2 separate regions of the Homo sapiens genome follow, and region 2 is linked to region 1. Evidence: promoter capture Hi-C in 16 types of primary human blood cells and fetal thymus (Javierre and others, 2016). All regions are on one chromosome and are shown on one strand. Each heading gives the region's core, a stretch centred on a gene start or on the middle of the fragment in contact. The rest is flanking DNA. Distances are from core to core; before and after follow the strand shown. Region 1 holds the start of SLC35B2 (solute carrier family 35 member B2). Region 2 overlaps POLH (DNA polymerase eta).

Region 1 (5,974 bases), core at 1,350-3,849:
ATGGTGTAAAAGATGAAGAGCTGGCCACATGCGGAGCAGATGGAGAGTAGCAGGGCATGGGCAGCAAACTCACTGTGTCGCCCCATGAAGCGGGTTCCCTCCAGTAGGGCCCCCTGTTCTAGCAGTGAGCCCACTGTGAAGAGGCAGGAGAAGAAATTGACCCCAAACATCATCTGCACCGATGACATCTTATAGGCAAACAGGGCATCCTGCCAGTTTGAGGTGAAGCTGTCAAAAGCAATATAACCTGCCAGTAAGATGAGGCCTGAGAGTGTGGTGGCTGGGGAGCTGCGGGGCTCTGGTCCGCTGGATAGCAGAAACATGCTGACCCCAATGGAGATGAGGGTGGCTGTCAGGTACTCCCAGTGTTCGTAGCTGCGCCGAGACACAAGCTTTCCCATCAGCATGACAGGGATCACCTTAGAGGCCTTGGCCAGCACCTGGGTGGGGAAGCTGACGAACTTAAGAGCTTCGTATTGGCACCAGCTGCTAAGCACATTGGACAGGCTGGCAAAGGAGTACCGGTACATGGGTGCCCCATGCCGGGGCTGCTTGCAGAGAACACAGGAGAGGCCAGCCACAATCAGTGCCAGCACTCGGTTCATTAGCACCAGGAACTGCGAGTCCGTAAAGCGCTCACCCGGTGATGTGGCTGTGGCCCCATAGCTGCGGGTCATCACTCTTTCCTGCAGCACACCCCAAGTCAGATAAGACACCTGTTGGGGAAGGTAGAGACAAAGGAGACAATAAGCAAGATAATGAAAAGGTAGACAAAAATTGACCTCTCTCTCTTCAGGATTATGCCTAAGTGATTCAAAGGAAAATATACACTTTTTGGTTCCTCTGTAGAAGTTTCTTCTCCCCTCCTAAGTCTGGATTCACCTTGTAGGGAATCAACTGTGTGTGAAAAACCTATTCAGGGAGGCAAGAACTCTCAGAATTGGGTATCTGTAGTTCAACATGATATTCAAGGTGGAACTAGTACCCACTGCAAAATGCCATGGGGTCAGCATGTTAGCACTCTCTCACATGCAGTACTGGGGGAAGGCTGAATGGCTCCCCCACAATTTTATCAGTGGGTTTACAGTATGTGAGACACCAGTGCAGGAAGGAAGTATAATAACGGCACAGTAGAAATCACAGAGAATAGGGCAAGAGGAGTCCTCTCTTCTGCACTAGACATCTTGAAATAACAGCATGAACTTTCAGTACCAGTGCTGGAGAGGAGAAAAGGAAGAAACAAAAGGGCATTTCCCCCAAACACCTCAAAGATGGAGGTGCAGTGTGCCCCTGGGAGGAGGACACGAAACACACCAGCCAGCAAAGCTCTGGGACTGGTAAAATGGAAACCTTCACAGAATCCCTGCCCACCGGCATCCAACCCAGGAAGAGAGGCTGAGCCCACCTACCCACCTGGAGCCCTGTGGCACAGAAGAGCAGCTTCAGGGCCTGCCACATCGGGGTGGTCTCTGCCGCCTCTGTTCGGGGCGCCAGGGGAACCTCATCAGAGGCCTTGGGCTCATTGCCAAACACACAAGCTTTCACCAGGGGAAAGCAGAGGCCCCTACCTGAAGAAAGCACACAAAGTCAAGCCCCAAATCTTCTCCATAGCACTTCATCTTCCCCAGAGCAGCCAGCCTGCCCTGCTGTCCGGCCTACCGACCTCCCGCCCTCTCCAAGTCATATCCCGTTTGGACTGCTGGCCAAATACCCTCTTTCCCGACCTAGCTCACTTCCCCGCCCTTTCTTCACACACCGGTCTCCAGGTAGTTCTTCCGCCTGAAGTACTGCACCAGGAGGTAGCCAGGTACCATAAAGCTGGCATAGCCAGCAGCATTCACCACAAATCGGAAGAACCATAGCTGGGTCCATGACTCCGGAGGGGCTTCGGGAGTCTCCCCACCTGCCCCTAGGGAGGGGAACGCAGCCAGCACCACCACTGCCCACCATCTGTAAGGAAAGCGGACATAAGGATTAGGGCGCAGCTCCTCATCCCCTCCGCCCTCCAGAGGGGACCACACTGGAGTAGTGCCCGGAGTCTCCTCCCCGCCCCCTCCGCTGCAGCTCCGGCCCGGACAAAGAGCCTCTCTCTCTCTCTCTCTCTCGGGGAGGGGGTGCGCCGGCGCTGGCCAGGCAGAGCTTCCTCCCTCCCCGGGGGCGGATCCGCCCCTCTGGCCACACAGGTCTCCTCTGTTCCCTCCAACGCTAGCCGGCTGCTCAGGTCAGAGGAAGCGCCCCTTCCCCCACACTCCCCTCCACGATCCGGGACGTCAGGGTCCCCAGCCCCTCCGCCCGAAGCTCCCCAAGGAGCACAAAACCAAGCCGCAGCTCCCATCCCCGCTGGCTCCGGGCAGCGATATGCTGGCCGACGGCCGAGCAGCCGGGACCCCACCCGGCCCCCGTGCTGAGGCGCGGCAGTCACGTGGCCCGGGGGCTCGGTCACGTGAGCTCGCTGCTGCCCTAGCCCCCACCTGGCGTCCATGGTCCAGGCCGCGTGGGGTGGAGGGGGAACCGGGGAATGCGAGTCCCCGGGCCGCGCGCCCCCTGCGCTCCCGCCGCCGCCTCCAGGAGCGGCCAGCGAGCCAGCGGCCAGCGGAAGTGCCGCGCTCTTCCCGCCTCCCTCCCCGCGGCCCCCTCCGCCCCTGCCGCGACCACGCAGCGCCCCGGGCCGCCGCCGGACCACAGCGCCCCCGCGCGGCCCGGAGGCAGACGCGGCTTGGGTTCCGGGGACCTGGGCTGCCCCTGGGCGCGGGGAGCCCCAGCCCTGAAGAGGCGCCCGCCCGGCGTGTCCCCTGTGCTTCGTCATCGCCCTTCATAAGCGTCCCAGAGGTCATGGTGACCATTGCCATCTTGTGGACAGGACATTGAGGCTCTGCATCCCAAGCCGCTCCTCTGTGTTAGTTTCCCCGTTTTCTGACAGGATGAAGGTGTCTCCTTGCTTTGTTGGCTGGGTAGTAATTCTGTCCCACTTCCCATGATCTTCGAGGCTCTACATGGCCTCGCCCGCGTTCCTCGCCCACTCACTCGCCCGCTGTGAAGCCCCACTGGCTTGCTCTCAGTTCCTCTAATTCACAGGCTTTCCCCCTAATGCTCTGCCCCCATCCCTTTACTCATCCTTACATCCCAGTTGAGATGATACTCCTCAGGCGAGGGTTCCCGGACCACCCAAAGTATGACCCTCTACCGACTCCATCCTTTTCCTTCCCACTATTCTTTTCCCTTCATAGCACCCACTGCAACTTGGAAAGGCATCTTTATTTGGATGTTTATGCTTTTAACGGCTGTCTCTCTCACTGGATGAGACGCTCCAAGTGGTCAGAGACTGTGCTGGTTTATTGCCCCATGCTCTTCATGCCAGCATAGGGGTGACCTAGCAGGGCCCTCGAAGGTGAGGAACGGGGGGAAAAACGTGGAGTCAGCTCCCTCGTGCCCAGCCTCCCTGGGTTACCCTTATCCCCAGGCTCCTCCAGATGGCAACCCCCAGGGCAGTGGTGAGGGCTCCAGGGCGTGTGTCCTCTCATTCTTCCTCTTGTCCCTCCATCCCTCATCATTTCCACAGCAAGGACAAGGGTCTGTGCTGGACACAGAGAAAGGCCTGGAACTACTGGCCTCTGACCCCACCCAGCAAGGCCCTACCGTGCTCAGGGGACAATTTCCTTCTCTCTGCCTCTACCACAAAGTCACAGGGCAGGCCTGTCTAAAAAGCCCCAATGCACACAGACATGCATGCGCGCAAAACAGCTCTAGAAGGGAAAAACTTTTTTTAACGTCTCTGCCATTTTAGTGTCATGTTACTGAAACTTCCCTTCCCCAGTGGCTCAGTTCAGAGCCTTCTGTGTGAAGTCTTTAAACAACGGTGTTTCAGGGTCCTCAACAGCAATAAGATGGGACACCTCTCAGGGTTCTGCTTGCTCCTATTTCAGTCTCTTCTCACTCAGGAGAGTCCATGCTTCCTACTGGTTGGCAGTTTCAGGCTGACCCAACATGGGTAAAACAAGAGCACCTGCCATTTTCAAGAGAGGCAAACAGGCTTCACCCAGGATACCTGGGGCTTTGGGGGTCTTCCAAGAAGCCCTGTCCACCTGGAAAGCTCTTCCTTCCAGACTGGCTCTCTTCCACTTGCAGTCCCTCCTCCTCGGCTCAGGACTGTACTGGCTGGCCCCAGGCTCTGGCCACAGCAGTCCCTAGGGCACCAGAAGAGCACATAGCCTGGGCCCAAACTGCAGCAGTTATGGCTCCGGCTTCCAGATGGAGAGGTGGAGCCCTGAGGATCCCAGACCCTGCCTGGCTTCAGTCGGTACACAGCAGCAGTTTCCCTGAGATCTTCAGGTCATCAAAGGGCAAAAGGACAAGGGACTGAGAAGGAGAATGGAGAGAAGCAAGATCAGAGGACATGGGAAAAGGTGACTTGGGAAAGGGGACCCAGGGAAACCTGTTGGGCCACTCCCTCCCCACCAAATGACAGTTGAAGACCATCAGGGAACAAATCTTCACACGAATCCTCAAAATAGTGGCCCCTCTGGGCTTGGCAGAGCCCTGAGGACTTAGACAAGCCTTCCTTTTCTAAGATAATGCCAGAATATCCGAGTTAGGAGGGACCCTTAGAGGTGATCCAGCCCATGGACCTGGAGTTGTTTGTTGTTGTTGGGGGATGGGGTGGGGGGGCTGCTGGGTACTCGCAGAACATTTAGGTTTCTTTTTTACACTGAACATTTAAAAATAGGAAAGACTGTACAGAAAATCTGAGTTTCACCTCTCAAGAAAGTCCAAGACCAGGAAAAACTGGGCCTACACTCCTGCTTTGTAAGCCTTTGCTGAAGCTGAGTACAGAGACCCTCAGGGATGGCTCTCTGGGTTCTTATAGGCCTCACCACACCATGGTCTCATATCTGGCCAACTTCACTGATTCACTTTAACTGCAGGGTCCCTGTAAGAGTCCAAATTTGGCTCCTTGGACCAACTAAGGAAACAGGCTCAAGTTCCCACAGTTGGTCAGTGGCAGAGTCCTGGTTATACCCCAGGACTCCTGGCTCCCTGGCCCTTTCAGCTAATGACAGAACCTCTCTCTGCTATGGGTGTGCAAGGCCCTGGAGAGCAAAGCATATGCCACTTACTTCCTCAGTCAGGTCCTGGGGCGTCTCATCCTCCACATTCCGCAGCAGGGAGTCAGCACCCGCCTTGCACAGAGTGGATGAGATGCCCATGAGACCCCGGCCAGCTGCCAGGTGCAGGGGTGTGCACCCGTTCAGCATGCGGGCATCTACCTGGGCACCAGCCTGGAGCAGGAACTGTACCAGGCCCCGCTCTTGGGTTTCCACAGCCAGGTGCAGCGCTGTCTTACCACTGGTGCCCTCCTGGGGAGGAATAAGGATGTCAGCCAAGGCCCTCAGAGGCAGTGTGCTGGGCCTGGGCTCTGGATAAGGAAGTGAATGCCACCACTTCTGACTGCTGGGCAGGGGACTTGGGGATGTGTCAGGTGGGGGCAGGCCCTGGGCCGGGCAGTGCTTTGCTGGCTGTCTCACCTGCACATCAATGTCAGCTCCATTCCGAAGCAGCAATTCCATGAGTGGTTGGTTCTTCTGAAGGGTGGCAATGTGGAGACAAGCCAGACCTGGGATGGGGTGAGAGTGAGGGTGAGGGCTGCTGATCTGCATCCACCAACTCCCTCTCTTCTGGGACCTCCCTACCACTCAGCCCCAAGGGACTCACAGCCCACTCAATGTCTCTAATCACAAGACTGTTAAAATGCAAACCCCAAAACCCCCTCAAAAGTCTAAGGGGAAAGGAACTCAAAGTTTCCACCTTTTCAGAGTCATGTTATTGAAACTTTCATGCTTCAGGGGTCAGGCTGCTGAGTGACACCCCCAAAGAACACCCTCCTCCTATACACAAACTACAACACACACACACACACACACACACACACATACAGACACACACACACACACACACACACACACACAACCTGCCTTCA
Region 2 (5,974 bases), core at 1,726-4,225, 640 kb before region 1:
GTTTATACTACTGTATTATTATTATTTTTTTTTGAGATGGAGTCTCGCTGTGTAGCCAGGCTGGAGTGCAGTGGTGCAATCTTGGCTCACTGCAACCTCCGTCTCTCGGGTTCAAGCAATTCTCCTGCCTCAGCTTCCCGAATAGCTGAGACTACAAGCGTGCACCACCATGCCCAGCTAATTTTTGTATTTTTAGTAGAGACAGGTTTTCACCATGTTGGCCAGGCTGGTCTCTATCTAGACCTCGTGATCCATCCGCCTCGGCCTCCCAAAGTGCTGGGATTATAGGCATGAGCCACCACGCCCAGCCTATAGTACTGTATTCTTATTCTCCACTCTTGTGTGTGAAAAGTCAGCTCTTTTGGCTTTTCTGTTATGGGGAAACTTGAATTACACAGGGAACCCAACTGAAGAAAATGAACTGAAGTAGGTGGCGCTGGGTGAAGTGGGCCCAGAGAATGGTGTACACATCCCTCCCATACATATACCCAAACTTCTATTTTTTTATGTGACGGAGTTTCTCTCATCGCCCCGGCTGGAATGCAATGGCACGATCTCGGCTCACTGCAACCTCCGCCTCCCGGGTTCAAGCGATTCTCCTGCATCAGCCTCCTGAGTAGCTGGGATTATAGGCATGCACCATCACGCCTGGCTAATTTTTGTATTTTTAGTAGAGATGGGGTTTCGCCACGTTGGCCAGGCTGGTCTTGAACTCTTGATCTCAAGTGATCCACCCGCCCTGGCCTCCCAAAGTGCTGGGATTACAGGCCTGAGCCACCAGGCCAGCCCCAACTTCTACTTTTTATTTTATTTATAAATTGGGGGGGGGGTTCTATATTTAGTTTGAAGAGGTGGGGAAGATTTGAAAACCACTAGATTTACCAGGAAATTTTTTTCTTCAAAAATATTTTCTGCTTTTATGATACTTGAATATCTAATAAAAGACAATATTTAGCCAGTCACGGTGGCTGATGCTTGTAATCCTAACACTTTGGGAGGCTGAGGTGGGTGGACTACTGGAGCCCTGGAGTTCAAAACCGGCCTAAGCCACATGGCAAAACAGTCTTTACAAAAAATACAAAGATGGTGGCTTATGCCTGTAGTCGTACCTACTCAGGAGGCTGAGGTTGGGAGGATCACCTGAATCTGGGAGTTTGGGGCTGCAATAAGCCATGATTGTGCCGCTGCACTCCAGCCTGGGTGACAGTCTGAGACCCTGTCTCAAAAAAAAAAAAAAAAAAAAAAAAAAAAAAGACTACATTCACTGTATACGTGGCCTTTTCCCCCTAACTAGCTATGTAGCTTCTTAAAGGCAAAGATTCTTCATAGTGCTTTGCACATGATAGGTGCTGATACTCATTGGATGAATGTATATAGTGAAGAATTTTAGATCTGATTACCACAATTGGGATCATAAACATGTATAAACTCCTTGGGAGTCTGCCTTATATACTTTTTATCCCCCTAAATGTTCCATTAATGTTGCAGAGAGGCTCACTAGTTCCTGGAGATGTCTTATTAAGTACTGAAATGTGATTTTCCAAAATTTTCTTTACAATACAGGCAAAAGATAAGTAAATTGTGGACAAAGCTTTCATCTCTATCAGCAGCTATAGAGAGGAAGTAAACAGCTTAGCCCCTAATACAGGAGGAAGTTGTTCAACTACAGGCTTGTTAGTAGCAAGTTAAACCAGTTACATTTTATAAAACAGCCTGAGTGGTAGGGAAGCTATCACTTTAATACTCTAGAGGCAGAATGCCACATAGGACTTTGGGTCACATATTTCTTTTCCAGGGTCTCCTCAAAATGCAGTTTCTATTTACAGTTGACTTTGGCCCCTATTTACCCATAAAATGTCAAAATCAAGTAGTATGAACATGGAAACAGGAGCAGGGACTAAGGTTTGGTCAAGTGGCCCTCATTGTTCCAAGAGTAATTTAGGCTATGTAAACTTGAAAAATATGGGACCAGATTACCTTTTGTCTCTAAATTCTACTCTTCTTTAAGTAGCTGGCACTGTATCTCTGCCAGGGCACAGAAGTGGGCTCCTTACTATTCTGACCACTAGCAAGTGGCCAACTCTTCAAATACAGGGTAGCTACCTATTTCACGTGAAAGGCCTCAGTATTCTGCTCACTTGAACTACGGAAAATAGGCCACAATACTTGGTTACAATACTGGAACTCTGAACCTATGTGGAGGAGAGAAAAACAATGGTGAACGAGATACCAGCTGGGCTCTTTCCACATTCAGGGCTCAGCAGTGTTGGGGTTTCACTTGTCTCTAATCCTGAAGAGGTATCTAGCCCTGGAAGGAAGCTGAGCCTGTAGCTAACGCATAAGCACAGTGTATTCAATAAAACATTTTTATTCTGTACAATATATATGTGTATTTAAATATATATACATATGTATATATATATATATGCACAGAGAAACCTTAGCCAACAAATCCCTGAGTCCATGGGAACCCAGGACACTAACAAAGGGAAAGGAGAGTCCATGCCTAAAGAGTAGGAAATATGGCAACATCTTTCCCTTTCCTCCTGGTTCCCTGCAACAGAGGGAAGGGAACAGTCACTACAAATTACTAAAACGAGGGTTTAGGTGGGGCAGGAAAGTGGGGTGAGAGTGGTAGGATGGGGAACTCAGATGCCACCAGTCTGGGAAAGTAAAACATTTGATCCAGCATGAAAGCCAACATGACCGCAGAGGAAAAAGACCAGACTGATGGGCATGCAGCTGGCCTTTGGTATATGCCAAGCCTTTGCTTGGTAGCCCCACGCCTGGGCCAGCACAACAAATAGCACCTGTGGGGCCTATAAGCCGGGAGGGGATGGGGGAGATAGGGACTGGGGAAATGGCCCTTGAGTGAAGGAAAGGGAGATAAAGCTGAGGAAGAGGCCTCAGGCCTCAGCACAGGGTGGCAACACTACCATTCACTGTCCCTGTGCCATTTCTTCAGACTCTGGGCCGCCACCACCACCAGATGGCCAAGAGCAGATAACCTTTTGTCCACAGCCAGGTAGAGATGGGCAACTTACATGGCCTTGAGAAGAGGTATAGAAAAAGGAGTGCTTTTGAGGGCTACCCCCTGTTGTGACCATTCCTGAAGTGCAGAGACCACACCAGCAAAACATGCCCAGTCTTAGTAGTGGGGACGAAGAATTGATGAGTGGATCCAGTCAGCTCCGGCAGACAGGCCACAGGGTTGCCAGGTTTGATGAGCCAACCAGGTGAGCACACAGCTTCGGAGCACTGCCCTGAATCCTGTCTTCTCCCTCAGGACTGCCCTTTCCTGGCCACACCAAGTTTGGCACCTCTCCAGAAAGTTGGCAGGGAGCAAGTGGCAGACAGCACCCCTCTCTCCCTAGCCTATTAACACACAGAGCCGCCAATGGCAGGGCAGCATGGCCAGAAGTCACCTTATATATTGTAGGGACAGCAATAGAACTGTCCCTGCCTGAAGGGTTCAGAAGCCCATGTTGGCCTGGGCTTCTCCTGCTGTAATGGCTTGTACATCAGTGACATGGCCGATGCCCTTGGTGACACCCTCCCGGAACAGCAGTTTGGCGCCCACCTTCAGGTACTCTGGGTGTTTCAGGAAGCGGAAACGTACCACTGCCTTCTCGCCTGTCCGCAGTTTGTCCTGCAGCAAATAAGTGGTCACTCCCCTGGCCAGTGCCTTCTGTCCCATTCTCTGCCAGCCGTGGCTCTCCACCCTCCAGAGGCCTATCAGGCCGCTACCCACCCTAAGTGGGGTTTTATTCCCATTGTGGGATCAAGGAGTTCTCTGCCAGTCTGGGGCAGGCCTCCCTCTTTTCTGACCTCTGGAGAAATGGAAGGCCAGGTCCCTCTCACCTTGGCATGGATCTTTTCCACCACTGCCGTCTGACGTACGTTGCCCACGTGTACTGTCACCTGGAATCCTCGTCGGAAGGTGGTGGCATGGAACAGTAAGACTATCTCTGCCTCAAACACCGAGCAGATGGTAGGATTCATCTCCGGGCTCACCATCACCATGCCCTGGGGAGGAACAGACCCCAGGCCCAGGAAGGGCAGCTCTAACATCAGACTCTCCCTCCCCAGCCACCCCACACCCTTTATAGCTCCTGAATTTCCTCTTCCTCTACACAACTCTAAACACAAAGACCTCAAAAGACAATAATCAAAACTCTCAGAGGGAATGAGTCTTTACCCACCTCCTACGTCCTCTAGCCCATCTAACGCTTCACATTTTTAGGGTCCTGAACACTAAAAATAGTGTTCATTAAAAACAGTGTAACATAGTGATTCATATTTAGTTATCTGTACCTCATGAGTACGTTAAGCTGTTTTTATAGTCTACGTAGCTAGACCAGAAGCTTCTTGGGTCAGAGAGTGTGTTTCCTCTGAGTTTCTCTGAAGCACCTTAGATAGGTGCTCATTCAGTAGCCAGTCTCCTAGGCACTTCTCTTAGCGTTCCCTCCCCAACCCATGCACCCACCTCACCTTGCGAAGCAGTGCACGGTCAAAGTCCCCAAGCGCCAGTGTAGCAGCCTGACCAGCTCGCAGCACACGACAGGCAGAGCGGTTGCGCTGGATGCTGCATACTCTCAGCTCCAGGAAGCAGCCATCATCCGTGGGGCCCACCACCAGCTGGTCCCCCTCACGGCAAATCCCACTGCAGCCCAGAGGGCAGGTGGCACAGTGTCAGCCAAGGTCCCCATACCTACTTCTCTATTAGGATCACCCAGAGCATTCCTTCCCTTCTAGGGTTGAGTCCCTCAAGTGGGGAAGAACCCTAAATTCTGACTTGGATGTAACAGGGCTCACTGCCAGAGTTCAGAATCAGAAGACTAATTTCATAAAAGGCCAGCAGTGATGGTGGACAGAGAGACACTTGCTGGTTTAACAACACCGAACACCTAATCACTGAAGGAGCAAGTTATCCCCTTGGGTTTCATTCTCTGCTTTGCAGAGTCTTAGGCCAGCCGCGTTGGCTCACACCTGTAATCCTAGCACTTGGGGAGGCTGAGGCAGGTGGATCACTTGAGGTCAGGAATTCAAGACCAGCCTGGCCAATATGGTGACGACCCCATCTCTACTAAAAATACAAAAATTAGCCGGGCATGGTGGTAGGCGCCTGTAATTCCAGCTACTCAAGGCTGAGGCAGGAGAATTGCTGGAACCCAGGAGGCAGAGGTTGCAGTGAGCCAAGATCGCTCCACTGCAATCCAGCCTGGGCAACAGAGCGAGACTCTGTCTCAAAAAAAAGAAAGAAAGAAAGAAAGAAGAGTCTTAAGTGACGTCTCTCATTTCCCTGTGTGAGATGAAGTCAGTTGAATACACTCTAGTTTTCTTCCTGGAGCTCAAGACCCACACTTCTCTCTCAGGGGCCTGGAGATTCCCCAATAGGCAGCAATACTGTTTCTTCCCTCCAAAGCCAACAGACTACCGTTCTCCAGCTCTTCTGATAGTGAAAGCCTAATCTGCAAATAAGCATGTCCTTTAAATGGGTTCCGTTCAATTCCAGGGTCTCCTCCTTTGGGCCAGGATGTCTTTGAGTATATAGGTGAGGGCTGAGTGGGGAGGGTAGCAAGCAAGACAATTTACCTGGAAAGTGTTCCTCCAACAACAGTCCCCACCTCTGGTACTGTGTAGATTTCATCCACCTGAAGCCAAAGAAAACGCTATCAATGGCCTGCCAAGTAGGGCTGGTGGGTCCAAAATCTCTAAACAGACTCTGGGTTTGGTCTGAAGCAGCCCCTCCCTGTTTCCCAGCCTATTAGATGTTTGGGCAGTCAACTACCTGGAACTCCGTCAGCTGCTGCATGAGTTCCTCCTGCTCTTTGCTGTTGGTGAGTGGCGGCAGAATATTCAGAAAGACTTTGAGGAGGTCCAGACTCTCTCCAGACACACTGGACAATGTGAAGATGGGGGTGACACTGTAGAGGGAGGCATGGAATGGACAGATGAAGACAGTCCAAACAGG

Evidence for each region. Contacts are between HindIII fragments. The CHiCAGO score rates a contact against its expected background, and 5 or more counts as called.
Region 2: a fragment that was not itself captured here is called in contact with the fragment with the promoter of SLC35B2 in region 1 in 1 of 17 cell types (naive B cells); the score reaches 5.0 in naive B cells.

Annotation. Positions count from the first base shown.
Region 1 is chr6:44,254,929-44,260,902 of GRCh38, forward strand. SLC35B2 (solute carrier family 35 member B2) reads right to left here and starts at 2,600. Exons shown (of 4, transcript NM_178148.4): 1 at 2,472-2,600; 2 at 1,757-1,950; 3 at 1,414-1,568; 4 at 1-716. The coding sequence starts at 2,482. NFKBIE (NFKB inhibitor epsilon) reads right to left here. Exons shown (of 6, transcript NM_004556.3): 4 at 5,523-5,611; 5 at 5,115-5,354; 6 at 3,238-4,356. The coding sequence ends at 4,291. RefSeq lists enhancers at 44-759, 2,189-2,902 and a silencer at 2,279-2,818. The HindIII fragment of the contact is 10,724 bases long and covers 1,537-5,974 here.
Region 2 is chr6:43,618,142-43,624,115 of GRCh38, forward strand. POLH (DNA polymerase eta) reads left to right here. Exons shown (of 11, transcript NM_006502.3): 11 at 1-2,382. It overlaps GTPBP2 (GTP binding protein 2), which reads right to left. Exons shown (of 12, transcript NM_019096.5): 8 at 5,792-5,927; 9 at 5,596-5,654; 10 at 4,492-4,663; 11 at 3,862-4,026; 12 at 2,353-3,649. The coding sequence ends at 3,473. Among named protein-coding and RNA genes, the nearest start is that of GTPBP2, 8.1 kb to the right of the region's middle. The HindIII fragment of the contact is 2,773 bases long and covers 1,590-4,362 here.